Regions from separate parts of the Homo sapiens genome. Here all the other regions are linked to region 4. The links are contacts of gene promoters, found by promoter capture Hi-C in blood cells and fetal thymus (Javierre and others, 2016). All regions are on one chromosome and are shown on one strand. The core of a region is centred on a gene start or on the middle of the fragment in contact, and the rest is flanking DNA. Distances in the headings are between cores, read along the strand shown.

Region 1 (4,140 bases), core at 376-2,875, 6.7 Mb after region 4:
GCCTGTTTCACAGGAAAATAAATCACGATACCTAACCCAAATGTGAAAGAACAGACTGAGCAGAACTAACAAAACTCATTTGCTCTTCTAGTTTTTAAAAATGTGAGTTTTGGACATCTGATTCCTGATCTCACCCTCAAGAAGTGGATCTGGTTATAAAGTGATGATGTTTTACAGTACATGTGACCATAGTTTAGCTGCTATAATATTCTTAATATAGTTACATAGCCAGGCTATGCAAGGTTTCTCACAAAACCAGAAAAGCTATTCGATCCTTATCATTCCCTTCCTGTACTGTTCTCAATAACTGGCTTCTCAAATCGTTCAGGAAACCACTGAGAATCATTAACGGGTTATTGGAATGCCCAGAGTGACTGCCCAAGGACAGGAAAATGCACTGGCTCTTTTTAGAAGAACCTGGAAAAGTGCATGCAGACCATTGCGGCTGAGTTGGCAATGGATGATTTCCTTCTCACAGTGTAATGTACAATAGCTGTAATTTAATTGTTAATAGAACACAACATGCAGTCTGTCTTCAGGCCTCTGTGTTTCTTGTGGTATTTTCTTCCCAGGTTGGAGTGTTTTTGTATAATCACATCTTATTCTCTTTTAACAGTTATCAACTCTTGGCTAGATCCCCTTATACAATACAGAGTATAGTTTATTCTCAGTAGTGTAGCCATCCTCATTATTATCAAACAGAACTAATTGCTGAGATGCTCATAGTAATATGCAAAACAGCTTGTCCTTTGTTATTTAGAAATTGTTTATATTAAGTTTATATTCTCTTTTAATTTGTTAAAGATATAATTCTTTGACTGAGATAGGACATTTCTTCTCATTGGTTTATTTATTTTAGAGATGAGATCTCACTATGTTGCCCAGGATGATTTTGAACTCCTGGACTCAACCAGTCCTCCTGTCTCAGCCTCCCCAAATGCTAGGATTACAGGTGTGAGCTACTACACTCAGCCATTTCTTCTAGTTTTAGATCTATATAATAAAACGATGCTTTTCTGTGATCCCTTAACATTCTCTACACTCAGGTGCATGTTCAAAGCATATTTGTTTTACTGTTGCCTAGTTTTCCATGTCATTCATTGAATTATCCAATGCATATTAATTATCAGTCACTTTTCCCATTACTAAGGGTACTTGAGTGAACAGAGCAGACAAAAACCCCACCCTTAAAAAGCTTATATTATTTTCAAGTTGTTGCAACTTTGGGTGTTTTTAAAAAATAAAAATTCCCAGCTGATAAAACCAACTTATTTGACAGCTACCTGCCTCACCAGTAGAACCAAGTTATAGCCAGAATTCAGAAATAACATTTTTGAGCATTTATTGTGTCTGACAATGTGCCAATCACTTTACATTTATTTTAGCTCATTTAATGCTTACAACAACTAGAAGGAGGTACTATTAGGATCCCTATTTTACAGATGAAAAAAGTGAAGGTCAGAGAGATTAGTTAAGCAGAGGGTACAAGATTAGGTTCCAGTTGACTCTTAACAACCATTTCATATTCCAGGTGATGCTTTACAGACATCTGATGAATGGATGGATGAATGAATGCATGCACTTTGGGAACTCCCATTCAGCTTGGCATAAATACTAACTCCTTAGAATACCCTAGAAAAATCTAGACCTTTTGTTGGAAGAAAAGAGTGGGAAGGGTGGTAGGGAATTATTTTTTCGAGTGAATTGAGGCAGATGATCTTACAGATGACTGGGTTCTAGTCAGCATGGTTGCCTTATCTGGTGAGAGATGAGAATTGGGCAGACACCAGTTCTGTCTGCCCTGGGCCCTCAAACTGAGTAGCCTCTGAGATTCAAGTTCATCAGCACAGTGTTGGAGGACAGTTCCTGCAGAGCCCCATGAATCAGAGGAGACTCGGAGGCAGGAGGAACTGGCTATCCTAAAGGTGATTTTAAACCGGGGTAGCTAGAGCCCAAAGAAGGGCGAAACCAGGACTAACTGCCCCATAGCATGAGGGGCAGCGCCTGTAAAATTACATAGGATTTGTAAAGGTGGAAGGCACTGTTGCGCCGGGTAAAGCTTCGCAAGGTCGTGGTAGGGGAAATGATTCACTCCCCTTCACTATTCCCTCGCAGCATGGTCCTCACAACCCCCTTCTCTTTCCCCATTTCCATTTCCGGACTCTTCTCCTGCCCGCAGGGCAGACGCACGCGCAGAGAGATTGCCAGCCCTGGCTGCCAGAGACCCGGAAGCATCGATCGGCTCTGTGCTCGGCTTCTAGACTTGTCGGCGCTCGATTGAGGAGCGTGGCTACGTTGCTTCCGGTGCCTGGCTCCGTTTCCTGCTTTTGGTTCTTACAGTAGTCGGCGTAGGCCTTAGGTGGGTTCGTGCGCCTTCTACCTCGCTGTTTCGGTTTTCCTGGCTCCTCGGCCCTTTTCTCCCCTGTTGCAGCTGGGAGCGGACGAAGCGCGAAGCTGGGGTGGGTACGCGTTTGGCCCGGGTTTGGATCTCGGAGGGGCAGGCTTGGGGGTGAGGAGACTGACTCTGGGGCCGGGCATCGCGTGGCAGCTCCCTTGGACTTCGTTAGGGGGCCTTGGGCGAAGGTGCTTGTGTCTGGAGAGGCGGGAGGCTTGCGCGTACGAAGTAAAGGATAGTTAATGTCAGTCTGCTCGTGCGAGGCGTGGACAGTTCACTGCGCTTTCAGGTGTCTTCCAGCGGCTCCCTTTTGGTGGTGGCGGGTAATTCAGGGTGTCCCTGTAACAACGCAGCCCACGATCAAACCTCGCATGAAACCCTGCAAGAGCCTCCCCTTTGTCCCCCTACCTTCACTTTGACCTCTGCCTCAGTCACTTCCCTTTCGTCGTCTCCTTTGCGACCCCTGCCCCTTCTCCAGATTTCGATTTAGGGGGTCGCAAGGCTTTGAGAAGCGTTACGTTTTACCTGTTACCTGCACAAGTGCAGCCCCTGCTTGTAGGCTCTTCCCTTGTCAATCATCCAATGCAGTTCACATACAGTGGATGCTCTGTAAATACTGTGAGATAAAGGAATATGTGGGGCACACAAGGAAATCATCCAAGTTCACAATTTGCAAGTAAAAACCATGTAAAAAATGCAATAGTGTGGTATATGAGGAAGACAAGTGTAGAGGAGAAAGCAAGGGCTGAATTTCCAGGCCTGATGCTTATTAGCTGTGTGACCTTAGGCAAGTTCCTTACCTGGTAATAGCTGTTAATAATAGCTACTCTTAAGTGTTTACCGCTGATGCAGAACTGTGCTAGAATTCATTTAGTCTTCTGAGTTCTATTGGGTAGGTTCTGTTACCATTCTTATTTTACTGATGAGGACCTGAGAGGTTAAGGAACTTCCCTCAGGCAAACAGCTAGTAAGAAGCATAAATAGGATTTGAATTCACATCTGGCTGATACTGGAATCTGAGTTTAATCGTCATGCCACACTGCTGTCATTGAGCTCCTTTCTTTCAAGTCGGTTAGAGATAACCTTGGAGTCCAGACAGCTTGGTGATGCTGTATACAAATTAATAGGTATGGAAGGACTTTGTAAGTGCACCCATTAAGTAGTTGGCAAACTTCATTAATGTCTAACCTTATGATTTTTACTGGATGTACATTTGCTACTTTGGTCATTTTTCTTCAAATCTACATTTTAAAATTATTTCATTGAGGAGGTGGAAAGAAAATGTCACGTGTCATAAGTGAAACGTAAGTGTAAAAATAAATGTGTTGAATTAAATGGTGTTACTAAAATCTGGCTAGGTATTGGTGCTCCAAGTTTTGAATGTGAGAAACTGTTCTTCTTCTGTATGAAAAGGAGGGCTAGTAGGTGCTGGAGATACAATAAAGGCTACAGCCAAACTGACATTTTCTGACAACTGGGATTGAAAGAGAAATGAAAAGTTAATAATTCTTGTGTTGTGTCCTTATGCCACAGTCCAGTATAATTTACTCCTTCCTTTTTATAACAGATTTTTTACTGTCTCCTGAAGAATTTAACACAAACATGGATATCAGACCAAATCATACAATTTATATCAACAATATGAATGACAAAATTAAAAAGGAAGGTAAGTGCTTTTTAGAATACTTGTTCACTACTAAAATGTGTTTATTTACTACTGTCTTAAAAATTGTACTGCCTCAAAA
Region 2 (4,260 bases), core at 1,761-4,260, 8.1 Mb after region 4:
CAAAGCCCCAGTAGCAATAAGCATGCCAGGACCTATATCTTGGATTCCAATATTATTCTACAATAAAAAGAACCTTGGATTCTTGGAGAAATGGCAGATTCTGAGACTTGGGCAGGAAATATACAAGATTAGCTCAGAATATTGTGCAGTGTCAGAAAATAGACAAGTGCTAAACAAGAAAAACACACATTGATGAGGGTCCGTCAGAGAAGCAGAGGAGCTGAAAGATCTCCCAACGGCCAAAGCGGGAGCCATCTGAGCAACAAAATAAAGTAATATTGGATTATAACCCAAAGTATAAAATAAATACCCACCAGTCCACACTGATAGAAACAAATGATTGAATCAGTTACTAAATGGGAGAGAAGAGACAAACCTGTGCAGAATTTCAGATTACTTATATAGATACTGCATTGAATTCATGGTGATTAATTCCAGTACCAGAAGAAAAACTGGCTGTTTTGGAGTTCCTGAGAAAATATCTATTTTCTTCAACATGTCACCTTCCTAAAATGTTTTCAAGGGTAGTTTTAACTGTTTTTGACTTTTTCCTTATGTGCTGACTTCAGAGCCTCAGCCTGAAGAAGGTGGGATTTCGTGGCCTTGTCTGCCTATAGAGCCCACTACAGGGCCATACACAAGGCAAGCCTTCTTGCTTGCATTTAAAATAGTCATAATGGTGCTTTATGCGGTGCCATGTGGTGTGATGTTTCTGTAATCATTTAGTGCTGAGACTGATAAATTTATCAGTCACTGGTGCCAGTTCAGCTGACACCCTCCACCTTCTTCCCAAACAAACCTCCTCCTTCCCACCTCCTCCTTCTCTCTCAGCCCCAATGATGACAAGCTTCTGATCATTGCCTGAAGCCTCTGCCTTGACCTATTGCATTCATGCCCACCATCAAGCCCAGTTTAAACCCGTGCCTCCTACTGATACCTCCTGCTAGGGTACTAGTGATTTACTATTCTTTAAGACAGAAGTGACCCGAAACCCAGCTCTCCCAGGATAGCTGCCAGGACCTGGCCATGATTCAAGCCCAAATAACATAAGCCAAATTACACACTCAGTGAGGAAGGCATTTTTTTCAAGTCCCCACCCTTGTGTGAGTGAAGGTGGAACAAAGATTGTGTGACCATGTTGTTCAAACACAGGAAAATGACTGCATTCCCTCCCCTTAGTTTTCATTTGTTGATTCTTCTCCAAGCCCTGACTTCCAACTGTACTTCTTTTTTGATGCTGCCTCTTGCTTAGAGGATTCTGAAGGGAAGGACAGGGTAGTATGCTGTTCTAAAGAGTATGGGACTTTATCCTGTAGGCATGGGGAGCCACTGAGCGGTTTTTAAGGTGGTCAGCTTCCTATTTTTGTCTTTGGAGGTAAGTTCACTCTGAAGGCCAGCCAATGGCAGGGCAAGGCACCCACTGTCCTCTCCAGGAAAGCAGTGGCCATTCTGGGCACACCTAAGTCAATCCAAAGCTGAGAGGGGCAGGAACTGATGTGATCTTAGGATGCCGAGACACTAGAATATAGCCAGATACACAAGGTTCAGATGTTCTGGCCTTACAAGCAAATTGTATTAAATCAGCCATGCTTCCTAAGCTTCGTCCCACCTTGGTAAACATAAAAAATAAGGATATCTGTACAACTCACTGGGATCAACTTGCGTGAGCTTGGATAATTCTAAAAGGAGCTTCATGGATAATAATTATTTACATTTCCTTTATATGGTACTCTTATAAAAAAGAAAAAGAAAAACAAAAAAATAAATGACATATAATTATGAGAAGAAAAATAAAAGCAAATCTTGGGGTAGATTTAAATATCAACTTTGGGTAAAATTTCCTGATAACATTCTTCTTGGAGTCTCTTTTAAATATCAAGTTTTGTGTTAAAAATAGTTCCTGATCATTGCTCCTGCACATAGTTCTTGATCAAGATTTTTTTTTTTTTTTTTTTTTTTTGAGATGGAGTCTCACTCTGTCACCCAGGCTGGAGTGCAGTGGTTTGATCTCGGCTCACTGCAACCTCCACCTCCCGGGCTCAAGTGATTCTCTTGCCTCAGTCTCCCAAGTAGCTGGGATTACAGGCACCCACCACCACACCTGGCTAATTTTTGTATTTTTAGTAGAGACGGGGTTTCATCATGTTGGCCAGGCTGGTCTCGAATCCCTGACCTCAAGTGATCCACCCTCCTTGGCCTCCCAAAGTGCTAGGATTAAAGGTGTGAGCCACCACGCCTGGCTGATCAAAATCTTTTTAAATGATCATCTCTTTAATTTTTGATAGTTACCATGGAGAAAAAACTTTTTTTTTTTTTTTTTTGAGTTGAAGTCTCACTCTGTCACCGAGGCTGGAGTGCAGTGGCTCACTGCAACCTCTGCCTCTCGGGTTCAAGCAATTCTCCTGCCTCAGCCTCCCAAGTAGCTGGGATTACAGGCATGCGCTGCCACATTTGGCGAATTTTTGTATTTTCAGTAGAGACGGGGTTTCACCATATTGGCCAGGCTGTTCTCGAACTCCTGACCTCAAGTGATCCACCTGCCTTGGCCTCCCAAAGTGCCTGGAATACAGGCATGAACCACCGTTCCCAGCCAAAAAGCTATTTGATACAAGAAGTGATGATAAAATGTAAAGCCATCGGCTATGAACCAATGGGAAAAAAAAGAAAAAAACACACAATAAAAAATCAAAAGGAAATAAAGACAATAAAAGAAACAAAAAAGAGCCATTTTTTTTCTGTTCGTATAGTTATGTAAGATTTTGTATAGAAGTGTATCATGCATGTATGTGTGACCACACAGCCTTGGTGTGCCACTGGACCAATTTTCACAAACACCCAGTACCAGCACCCAGTACTAGAGTTCTAGATCAGCCTAGCCAACATGGTGAAACCCCATCTCTACTAAAAATACAAAAATTAGTGCAGCCTGGTGGCTCAGGCCTGTAACCCCAACTACTCCAGAGGCTGAGATACAAGAATCGCTTGAATCTGGGAGGCAAAGGTTGCAGTGAGATCACCCCACAGCACTCCAGCCTGGGCGACGGAGTGAGACCCTGTCTCAATTAAAAAGAAGAAAAGAAAAGAAAAAGAAAAAAATAGTTGCTTCTCAGTTTGATGATATGCAGTCACTCTCACAAATCAGTAATTTATGCGACAATAATCACGGAAAATATACTGCTTAGGCTTATAAATATTTAAACAGATAAACATACTTTTTTTTTTTTGCAAGACCTCCCTCAGTCCCCCAACCCACTTTTTTATTTGACACAGTTAATAATAAATGATTTCTTAAAAGTAGAATACTTTTTTTTTTGCTTCTAGTATCCTGAAAATAAAGAAAAGAGTACATTTCAAGAAAACAAGTTGAAAAATTAGTCACAATAAAATGAAAGGCGATTGATCTAATTCCCTGATGTACACTCTAAGGACATACAGCTCTGTTGAAGGCTCACTGATTTACAGGGGAAAATATCTAGGATATACCACGAATAAAAAGAAGTCTAATATAATTTTTAAAGAGAAATATGCAAATACACCCTGAACTGAATTTCTTCTCAAAGTTCATTACAGCAAGAACTCCATTTTCCAATTCAGTGGTACATTCTCTCTAGGCTGCAAAAAATGCTGTGGACAAAATGACATTTGGAAAAGGTATCTTTAAAGATACCTTTAAGAGCAATAGTCCCCTTATGCCATTTACGCTCACATAAGAGACTGGAATAGCAAAGCACTATGAACAGTAATGAATGTTGTAAAACTCCCTGGTGAGGCTTAATCAATACTGCCTATAGCCGTGTCCACCGGAAGAAGCTCGTTCTCTGTGAATTCTAGTGGGAAAGAATGATTGAATGATGAACACGTTTTCACTGGTTGCTCTATCAGATACTTAAAAGTTTCTGGGAGGCCTTGCCTTTTTTACCCGAGGAAGAAGTGAAAATGCGTCTTGCACAATTGCTTAACTATTCCCAACGCAAGACTTCTTTATATCATTTATTTCCCTTGTATTACTGGCGCGGAAACTTGGGTGTAAAAGTGATCACAAAGATTACATGGGGCCAGGCGCGGTGGCTCACGCCTGTAATCCTCTCGGGAGGCTGAGGCAGGAGAATCGCTTGAATCCGGTAAGGTTGCAGTGAGCCGAGATCGCGCCACTGCACTCCAGCCTGGGCGATAGACAGAGACTCTGTATCAAAATTATAATAATAATAATAATAATAATCCGAGCCTGACCAGTCGCCCCACAGCGTCAAGGTGAAACCA
Region 3 (4,734 bases), core at 2,235-4,734, 6.5 Mb after region 4:
GCTGGGGCAATCTGAGAAATCTGAATAAAGTCTATTCAGATTTGTATTCAAATAATGATACAACATTCAAATAATGTTGTATCAATATTACTTTCCGGTTTTGATAATTATAAGATAGTTATAGAAGAAAAGAACATTCAAAGAAGTTGGGTAAAAGGTACATGGGAACTCTGTATTATTTTTGCAAATTCTTATAAATACTTCAAAATAAAAAGTTAAAAATATTTTTAAAAAAAGAAAGAAAAGCACCTTAATTGAATCATCACATGTGAGCACCAGCCAAGGACCACTGATACCTTCTCACAAGGGCCCATCTACCTCGTCAAATGAAAACACCAACTTTAGGGAAAAGGATGAGAACAGACCAGATATTTTCGTAAAGCCTTATCTGGCAAATTGATTGAATTTGAGCTAGTCTCCATCACCTAGAATCATTTTTTCTTGACAGTTCCCTGGGGAACTTTTAAGTCCTGCTCTGAGGAAGTTCACACAGTGACTTAACTGTGTCCCAGGCAGAATCCCTGTGATGGCTTAGACTTTGTCAATAAGAATCAGCAGGTGCAGTGAGGTGAGACCACAGGCCCCTGGGGCAAAGGACACCAAGTTCCTGAGAGCAGGCATCCCATGGAGGGTTCAGAATCCTACACTCTTAAAAGTTTAAAATCTTGATCTGAGCAATGGCTCAAGCCTGTAATTCCAACACTTTGGGAGGCCAAGGCAGGCGGATCACCTGAGCTCAGGAGTTCAAGACCAACCTAGGCAACATGGTGAAACCCCTTGTCTAAAAGAAATACAAAAATCACTCAGCTACTTGGGGGGCTGAGGCTGAGGTGGGAGGATCGCTTGGGCCTGGGAGGTCAACGCTGCAGTGAGCCATTTTCGTGCCACTGCACTCAAGCCTGGGTGACAAAGTGAGATATTATCTCAAAAAAAAAGAAAAAAAGCTCTAACCAGCTAACAAGAGGAAACGGAATTGGCAGTCACTCTGACGGCATGATGTCTCAGTGTTGTCTCGAGTAACAAAATCAGATTTTACCAACTTCTTCTCTGGATAATAAATTCACTTCATCAGTGTTTTTTTCAAACTATGAATCATAAAATCATTTTAGTGAGTAACAATCATCTTTTTTTAAAAAAATATAATAGAGAGGCCGGGCGCAGTGGCTCATGCCTGTAATCCCTGCGCTTTGGGAGGCTGAGGTGGGTGGGTCACCTGAGGTCAGGAGTTCAAGACCAGCCTAGCCAACATGGTGAAACCCCGTCTCTACTAAAACTGCAAAAAAAAATTAGCTGGGCGTGGTGGCGGGTATCTGTAATGCCAGCTACTCAAGAGGCTGAGGCATAAGAATTGCTTGAACCCGGGAGGTGGAGGTTACAGTGGGCAGAGATGGAGCTGCTGCACTCCAGCCTGGGCCACAGAGCAAGACTCTGTCTCAAAAAAAAGTAGTAGAGAGTAGAAAATATCAGCATGCATTGAGCAGATGAATGTCTTACTGTGGATCTTGTTTGAAGCACATAGTTCTATACAATCATCATCAGCCTTCCAAAACATAAGCGCCCTTCATTTCAAATAATATGACAAATCCTTTCTCACTAAGTCAGTGGGAAAAAAAAAGTTTTAAATAGTTCTTATATTCACAATAACTTTTATTAGAAAATCTGAGGTGTGTTGCCATGAGGGGAAAATTCTTTTGCAAACTGAAGTCAAAAATTTTAAGTATCTCCCCCAAGATATTTATTAATTACAAACAGGAAAAAAAAAATAAAACATTACAGTGGAGAAACCCTGCAGATACCACCTTAACCACGTAATCAAGGTCAACATCACCAGTAGTAAGACATATTGACATCACATACCCCAGTAACATATGAAGGACACAAAATCACTTTTGTGGTATTATTGTCAAAAATTGCTTAACTTCAACGTATTTGTGATAAAACATCAGAGAAAGCCACACTGAGAACCATTCTAAAAAATAACTGACCAGTACTCTTCAAAAATTAAGGTTATGAAAAACAAGGAAAGACTTACAAACTGTCACGTACCAGAGAAGACTCAGGAGACATGCTACATTTAGATGCAATGTGGGATCCCGGATTGGATGCTGAACCAGAAGGAAGACATTAGTGGGAAAACTGGTGAAATCTAGATAAAATTTAGTTAATTTCTTCGTTTTGATCATTGTGCTGTGGTTACATAAGGCATAATATTACGGGAAGTTCGGTGAAGAGTTTATATATGGGAACTCTCTACTATTTTGCAACTTTACTATAAATCTACAATTATTTCAAAATAAAAATTTTTTAAAATATCTTTTCTGAAGAAAGAAACAAGAGTATTCTGCCCTATAAACTGTGTATCATTTAAACACAGTAAAGTGTTGTACCATAGTGCTGTACCTCCAACTCTCTAACCTTAAGGGATAAACATAATGTGCATTGGTGTGTAATATGAAGTAATCTTAATCTTCATTGGGAGTGTAATATTAAGTAAACTTAATACACGGGAAAGAGCTGAAGCTGTCCTTGTTTACCCAGGCTCTTGCTCAGCCCTCCGTCACCCCTCACGTCTTCCTAATACCCAATAGGAGGATTGTCAAGATGCTCTTTTCCTCCTCACGGAGAACAATGTGAGACATGCAACAAACGCCGTGACTACGGATCCCAATCCCTCACGAGCAACCACAGAAAGTAAGAGGCATGTGTGGAGGGTGAGTGGAGATACTTATAAATGTAACAAATACTTTCTGAGTGCTCAGGTCTTCCCGGCACAGTTCCAGGCCCCGGGGAAACAGCCATGAACAAGATCTACACGGTGACTGGCTCTCAGAGAGTTTAAGAGATAATAAGCAAACAAAAATATATTCACACATACACACACGTATACATTCATAAAATGGGGAATGTTAGCAAGCCAGAAAACCAGAGTGAGGTAATAAAGCCTTCTCTGAAGACGGGCATATGAGACAGAACCTGATCCTTCTTTGAGACTCAGTTTCCCATCTATAAGACGGATCTAATGATGTTCACCCCTGTAGAACTGTTGTGAAGAAGTGAATTAGATAGTACAGCGCAGGATTTAGCAGAATTCCTAGCAAGTGAATGAGTGGCCAGAAATAGTAATGAGTGACCAAATTACTGATCAACAATTACATTGAAAGCATTAACTTTCTCAATTTACTTTAAATTCTACATATCCCACTGAAATGTACTTAAAGTGTCTATAAATAAATGACTGATCACAGAAACAGCTATTTCCTATCTCATGGACAGCAACAATGAAAAATGAATACATTTGGAAATGGACAGAGCAAAAAACACAAATGCTCCGCCCAGGGATAATAGGAGTGACCGAAGGCAAGCTTCCTGGCCCCACTGGTGGTTACCTCCTTTGTGCTTGGATGAATGTGCGGGCTAAGTCCAAGCCAGTGCTGACCAACCTCCCTGGAAGGATTTTTTCCCCTGTCTTTTTATAACCTGAACGTGAGGAAAGGCAGTCAAAGCCACCAAAATAAATCTCTCAGTCCTCAGGAAGGAGCTAAAACACTATTACTTCTTTTCCCAGGCTACAGGTCTAAGTATAATTAACATATTCTCTTTCACAAAACAAGCTTCAGTAAGATGGCATCCCAATTCCAGAATCTGCAAAAACAGCCAAAGCTATCAAAATAACTTAGAAAAACAGTCAAGAAACAAGGAAGTATCACATCAATCAACTTTAGACCAAACTGCTATATATCACACAACTGGACATTTCTAAATAACTTCTCTCTCTCTGACAGGCAAAAAGAAACACATACACACTCGATCTCTGCCACTCCACTCTCTCCCACTCCACTCTCATGCTCACACAGTTTCCATGTTTAAAATAAAGCAACAGAAGTTTAAAACCAAATTATGTGACCCAAGTCACTCAAGAGCACCTTTTAAACTACTAATACACCTTGTATAAGTGTATTTTGCACACAAAGATATTTTAAAATATTGTATAAGGAAAAATACCAGACATTTGCATCATATTACTTATAAAGTTCACCTAAAAGAAAGAAAAAACTTCCATGCGCTCCCAACTCAAGGTGTCAGCAACAGCAGCAACTCTCCCCTCCTTTCTCTTTCCAGCCAGCAGCCCCTTCCCTCCCTTGCTCCTCCAGCCTTCTTTCACCAACCCCAAACTCCCTGTTTTCTTTTTCTCTTCTTCAAAACAAAAAGAGACAAACAAAAAAATCTGTCTTCTGCTGAGCCTGGGTTTGTCATGTCCAGGTAAGGGCTGGGATCCAGGGATGCAGACCAGGCCATGCCTCAAACATGGAGTAAAAAAGTTTCAAAAGATTACAGGAGTCCTTGCGGTAATTTGCTGAGAATGATGGTTTCCAGCTTCACCCATGTCCCTACAAAGGACAGGAACTCAACCTTTTTTATGGCTGCATAGTATTCCATGGTGTATATGTGCCACATTTTCTTAATCCAGTCTATCACTGTTGGACATTTGGCTTGGTTCCAAGTCTTTGCTATTGTGAATAGTGCCGCAATAAACATACGTGTGCATCGCAAGGACAAAAAACCAAACACCGCATGTTCTCACTCATAGGTGGGAATTGAACAATGAGAACACTTGGACACAGGAAGGGGAACATCACACACCGGGGCCTGTTGTGAGGTGGGGGGAGAGGGGAGGGATAGCATTAGGAGATATACCTAATGTTAAATGACGAGTTAATGGGTGCAGCACACCAA
Region 4 (4,536 bases), core at 1,413-3,912:
ACCTTTGTGTCCACACTCTGTAGCCAGCTAATCTGGTGGGGACATGGAGAACCTTTGGGTGTAGCTCAGGGATTGTAAACGCACCAATCAGCGCCCTGTCAAAACAGAGGACTCGGCTCTACCAATCAGCAGGATGTGGGTGGGGCCAGATAAGAGCATAAAAGCAGGCTGCCTGAGCCAGCAGTGGCAACCCGCTTGGGTTCCCTTCCACACTGTGGAAGGTTTGTTCTTTCACTGTTTGCAATAAATCTTGCTGCTGCTCACTCTTGGGGTCCACACTGCTTTTATGAGCTGTAACACTCACTGCGAAGGTCTGCAGCTTCACTCCTGAAGCCAGCGAGACCACGAGCCCACCAGGAGGAACCAACAACTCCAGAAGCGCCGCCTTAAGAGCTGTAACACTCACCGTGAAGGTCTGCAGCTTCACTCCTGAGCCAGCGAGACCACGAACCCACCAGAAGGAAGAAACTCCGAACACATCCGAACATCAGAAGGAACAAACTCCAGATGCGCCACATTAAGAGCTGTAACACTCACCGCGAGGGTCCCTGGCTTCATTCTTGAAGTCAGTGAGACCAAGAACCCACCAATTTTGGACACAGTTTGACAATAAATTTACACTCAAATATCTCTAAGGAATCAAACTTACAGATTAATAATTAGTAATCAGGTCACGTAAAGTAAATTATAAAAGAGCATTGATACCAAGATTGGCAGAAAGTTTTTTGTGTGACAAAACCAAGTTTTGGCTAAGATACACACTGCTGATGGGAGTCTAAATTGCTGTATATGTCGGGAAAACAAGTTGTCTTTATCTTGATGTTATAAATAACCTATGACCCAGAAATTTAACTCCTAGACATATACTCTAGTGAAACTCTTGAACGTGTGCGTCCAAAGACATTTATAAACATGATCTTAGTAGTATTGCTTTTAGTAGCAAATTCTGGAAACATCCCAAATGTCTATCAATAGTGGAATTGATTTGAAAGGGGTGTGGAATGGTAATATAATGGAATAGCCTACAGCTGTTTAGATAAAGGAACTCCAATTAAACATACCAACAAAGATACATTTCAAAAACAAGACGTTGAAAGGAAAAAAGTCATCAAAACAATACACAACATTCTACCACATTTTTATAAATTCTCAAAATATGCAATATTAAACATGCATTATTTAGGGAGGCATTCAATGTAGCAATGCATTTTTAAGAGGCTGGGATGATAAATGTAAAATTCAGAACAGGTATTATCTCTGGGAACAGGAAGAGGAGGATGCAGTGTTGGGAAGAAATACATATAAGTACAGCAGTAGAGGCAGACTTTTTTTTCCTTTTCCTTTTTCCTTTATTTTTCCTAGCTTTCTTTTTCTTTAGCTATGGTATTTCTTTAGCTATGGTATGGTATGGTATGTACTTTCCATATATCATACAGTATATTTTGGTGTGCATGAAATAGTCCTTAATAACATTTTTATTATTTTTTATTTGACGTTTAAGTTCAGGGGTACATGTGCAGATTTGTTATATAGGTAAACTTGTGTCATGTGGTTTTGTTGCACAAATTATTTTCTCACCCAGGTATTAAGATTAGTACCCATTAGTTATTTCTCTTGATCCTCTCCCTCCTCCCACTCTCCACCTTCTACCCTCCAATAGGCCCCAGTGTGTGCTGTTCCCCTCTATGTGTCCATGTGTTCTCATCACTTAGCTCTCACTCATAAGTGAGAACATGCAGTATTGGGTTTTCTGTTTCTGCGTTAGCTTGCCAAGGATAATTGCCTCCAGCTCCATATTCCTGCAAAAGACATAATTTTGTTCCTTTATATGGTTGCATAGTATTCCATGGTGTATATGTACCGCATTATCTTTAGCCAGTCTATCATTGATGAGCACTTAGGTTGATTCCATGTCTTCGCTCTTAACATTTTTAAACAGTCTCTGAGTAGAATAGGGTAGGCTGGTGTAAGGAATTACTGTTTTTAATTGGAAGCAATTACATACTGCATTAAAAAGCATATATATATAGACACACATATATATGTTTTACATTCACATAATCAAACCAAAGCTTTCAGAATTTTCCGCCAAAAAGCATGTGTGGAGGGAGAGAGAGGGGTGTTATGGTGCATTTGTAGGCCCTGAAATAAAGTGATCTCCATATTTGCTTCCATTTGTGTATAAATATTTTTTAAGCATATATGCATCCTAGAGTATGGAAAGAAAATTTCTGGGAAGATTTGCAAGAATCTGTGGCAGTTGAGAGTAGGTTCACTTTCGCTTTATTGTGTAATTTATTGTATTTTTCATTTAATTGTACTTTGTAAACTAAATATTTATTGTATATTTTACTTCATTTTTTAATTGCCATATGCAGCTTTAATTTTATAACTAAATTACGTTCTGACCCAGGGCAGGAGGTGGGAGAAGAGAATGAGAGAAGGGCGGAATCCTCAAGACAGCAGCATTCTGCGCTCCGCCCTGGAACACCCAGCGCAGCTACCCCATCCCGCCCAGGCCGGCCACCTGGCGTCGAAGCCAGGCGCGAGGGGCGGAGGCGGAGGCGGGGGCGGGGGCGGAGGCGGAGGCGGAGGCGGAGGCGGAGGCGGAGGCGGAGGCGGAGGCGGAGGCGAGCACCGCCCCACCGCGCACGCTGCGGTTGCCCCGGCAGCCGCGCCCTGCGTGGCGGAAGCTCACAATCAGCCCGGTCCCTCCGGCTTCCACCCCGCCCCCTGCGCTCACCTGCCCGCGCGCTCGCCTTCCGGGGACCCGGGGCCCATGGACACATACACCCAGCCCTGCTGTCCCGCGCGCCAGCTCACCAGCCCTACCCAAGGGACATCATTCACGCCTGGGCGCCTCCGCCGGGCTCCGGGAGCCCAAGGTCGCGGCTGGGCCAGCGCTGAGCGTCAGAGGACGAGAGCAGGGGCCTCCCCGGTCGCCCCAGCAGGCCCAGGCACATAGGTGCCCAGAGATCCCTGGCTTCTGATCGCCCGGAAGACTAAGAGGTGAGCATGACACATGGCTTTTCCTTTGACGTTACATCTCTACCCCCTCCACTCCTCTCTTCTCCAGATTTTTCTGGAGACTAAAAAGTGGAAAGCACAGTAGAGAACCCCCAACATGTAAACTATCGCTTACACTTGTGGGTGAGCTGAAACCCGCAAAAGTTTGGTGTATTCATAAGGAGCCTATATTGAAGGACTTTGCTAAATGTTTTACAAGGATCATATCTCATTTCCTTTTCACACAGTCCCATGAAGTGGGCACCATTGCTATTGCCAGTTCACAGATGCAGAAACTGAGGTAAAAACTAGGTAGGTAGCATATCCATATTTATATCCAACTAGTTTGTGTAAATAATGATACAGGGAAGGGAGGATCACAACGGATTTCCCCACCTCAAACCCTACATTCCACTGTACCAAGCTTGTCTTCCTCCATTCCTCTTTCTAATGATCCTTCCTTGTCGCACAGCCCCCCTTTGAGAGTTAAATGACCTGAACACACACAGATTCCCACAGATTTTCATGTAATTTCCGAGTATTCAGACCCCGAACATGGACCTCAAGTCAAGACATTCTGCTCTATTCCACTACCTTGGTAGATGGTTAGATGTGACTAAGGTGGCCCAGGGTCATGCTGGGGAAAAGTACAGGTGTGCTTGTATGTGGAGGATCCTATATGCTGCTCAATTTACAAGGAACCCAGGACCCAAGGGCTACACTTGTGTGATTTCCTGCAGTGGGGTGAGCTCTTGGTCAGTCTTAGCAGTTGATTGTGAAGGACACTATACAGGGTGCTGCCCTCTCCCCAGCACTTCAGGGCTTTAGCTGGGAGGGAGGCAGTCCACAGGAAACCGACCCATGGACCTACTGAATTCATCACTGTAGCTGCTAATTAATTCTCCGTTAGAGATGGGTGCTAACAGAGGCAACATTGAAGTCCCTGATTGGGAAATCCTTATTTTCACAAATCAAGTGGCATTGATTCAGTCTAATCATTACCTATGTAGGAGCATCTTGCCCTATTCCATAGATGACACATATACATATGCAGTATGATGACACCGCACCTAATCGGAATATGGCCGATAATAATAAAACAAGCCATAAATAGCAGCTAAGGTGAGTGTCACCAAGCCGTGCAGCAAAGTCCAAGTGGATGACTCTGAGGCAGCCTCAGTTGGTTCCCTAGTCCACCGCATGTTATAAACAGATTAAAAGGCAAAGGAGGCCTGGCCCGGTGGCTCACGCCTGTAGTCCCAACACTTTGGGAGGCTGAGGCGGGTGGATCACCTGAGGTCAAGAGTTCAAGATCAGCCTGGCCAACATGGTGAAACCCTGTCTTTACTAAAAATACAAAAATTAGCCAGGTGTGGTGGTGGGCACCTGTAATCCCAGCTACTCGGGAGGCTGAGGCAGGAGAATCGCTTGAACCCAGGAGGTGGAGGTTGCAGTGAGCCGAGATTGTGCCACTACACTCCAGCCTGGGTGACAGAGTGAGAGTTGGGCTGAGGGTCGAGGGTCATGGGA

The links. The method cuts DNA at HindIII sites, captures the fragments that hold promoters and counts their contacts. A CHiCAGO score of 5 or more calls a contact.
Region 1: a contact is called between a fragment that was not itself captured here and the fragment with the promoter of ANKEF1 in region 4, in 7 of 17 cell types (total CD4 T cells, naive CD8 T cells, total CD8 T cells and 4 more). The highest score is 20.9, in total CD4 T cells.
Region 2: a contact is called between a fragment that was not itself captured here and the fragment with the promoter of ANKEF1 in region 4, in 1 of 17 cell types (total CD4 T cells). The highest score is 6.3, in total CD4 T cells.
Region 3: a fragment that was not itself captured here is called in contact with the fragment with the promoter of ANKEF1 in region 4 in 1 of 17 cell types (naive CD8 T cells); the score reaches 5.2 in naive CD8 T cells.

What each region holds. Positions count from the first base shown.
Region 1 is chr20:16,727,706-16,731,845 of GRCh38, forward strand. SNRPB2 (small nuclear ribonucleoprotein polypeptide B2) reads left to right here and starts at 2,321. Exons shown (of 7, transcript NM_003092.5): 1 at 2,321-2,459; 2 at 3,963-4,061. The coding sequence starts at 3,998. RefSeq lists enhancers at 1,432-2,300, 2,359-2,408, 2,459-2,578 and a silencer at 2,729-2,778. The HindIII fragment of the contact is 864 bases long and covers 1,194-2,057 here.
Region 2 is chr20:18,133,099-18,137,358 of GRCh38, forward strand. It overlaps a transcript of KAT14 not described here. Among named protein-coding and RNA genes, the nearest start is that of KAT14, 2.6 kb to the right of the region's middle. The HindIII fragment of the contact is 2,828 bases long and covers 1,597-4,260 here.
Region 3 is chr20:16,559,859-16,564,592 of GRCh38, forward strand. All of the region lies in intron 1 of KIF16B (kinesin family member 16B), which reads right to left. Among named protein-coding and RNA genes, the nearest start is that of KIF16B, 11 kb to the right of the region's middle. The HindIII fragment of the contact is 249 bases long and covers 3,361-3,609 here.
Region 4 is chr20:10,032,325-10,036,860 of GRCh38, forward strand. It overlaps ANKEF1 (ankyrin repeat and EF-hand domain containing 1), which reads left to right and starts at 2,663. Exons shown (of 11, transcript NM_022096.6): 1 at 2,663-3,009; 2 at 3,255-3,318. All of the region lies in intron 3 of SNAP25-AS1 (SNAP25 antisense RNA 1), which reads right to left. RefSeq lists a silencer at 2,454-3,003. The HindIII fragment of the contact is 1,358 bases long and covers 2,071-3,428 here.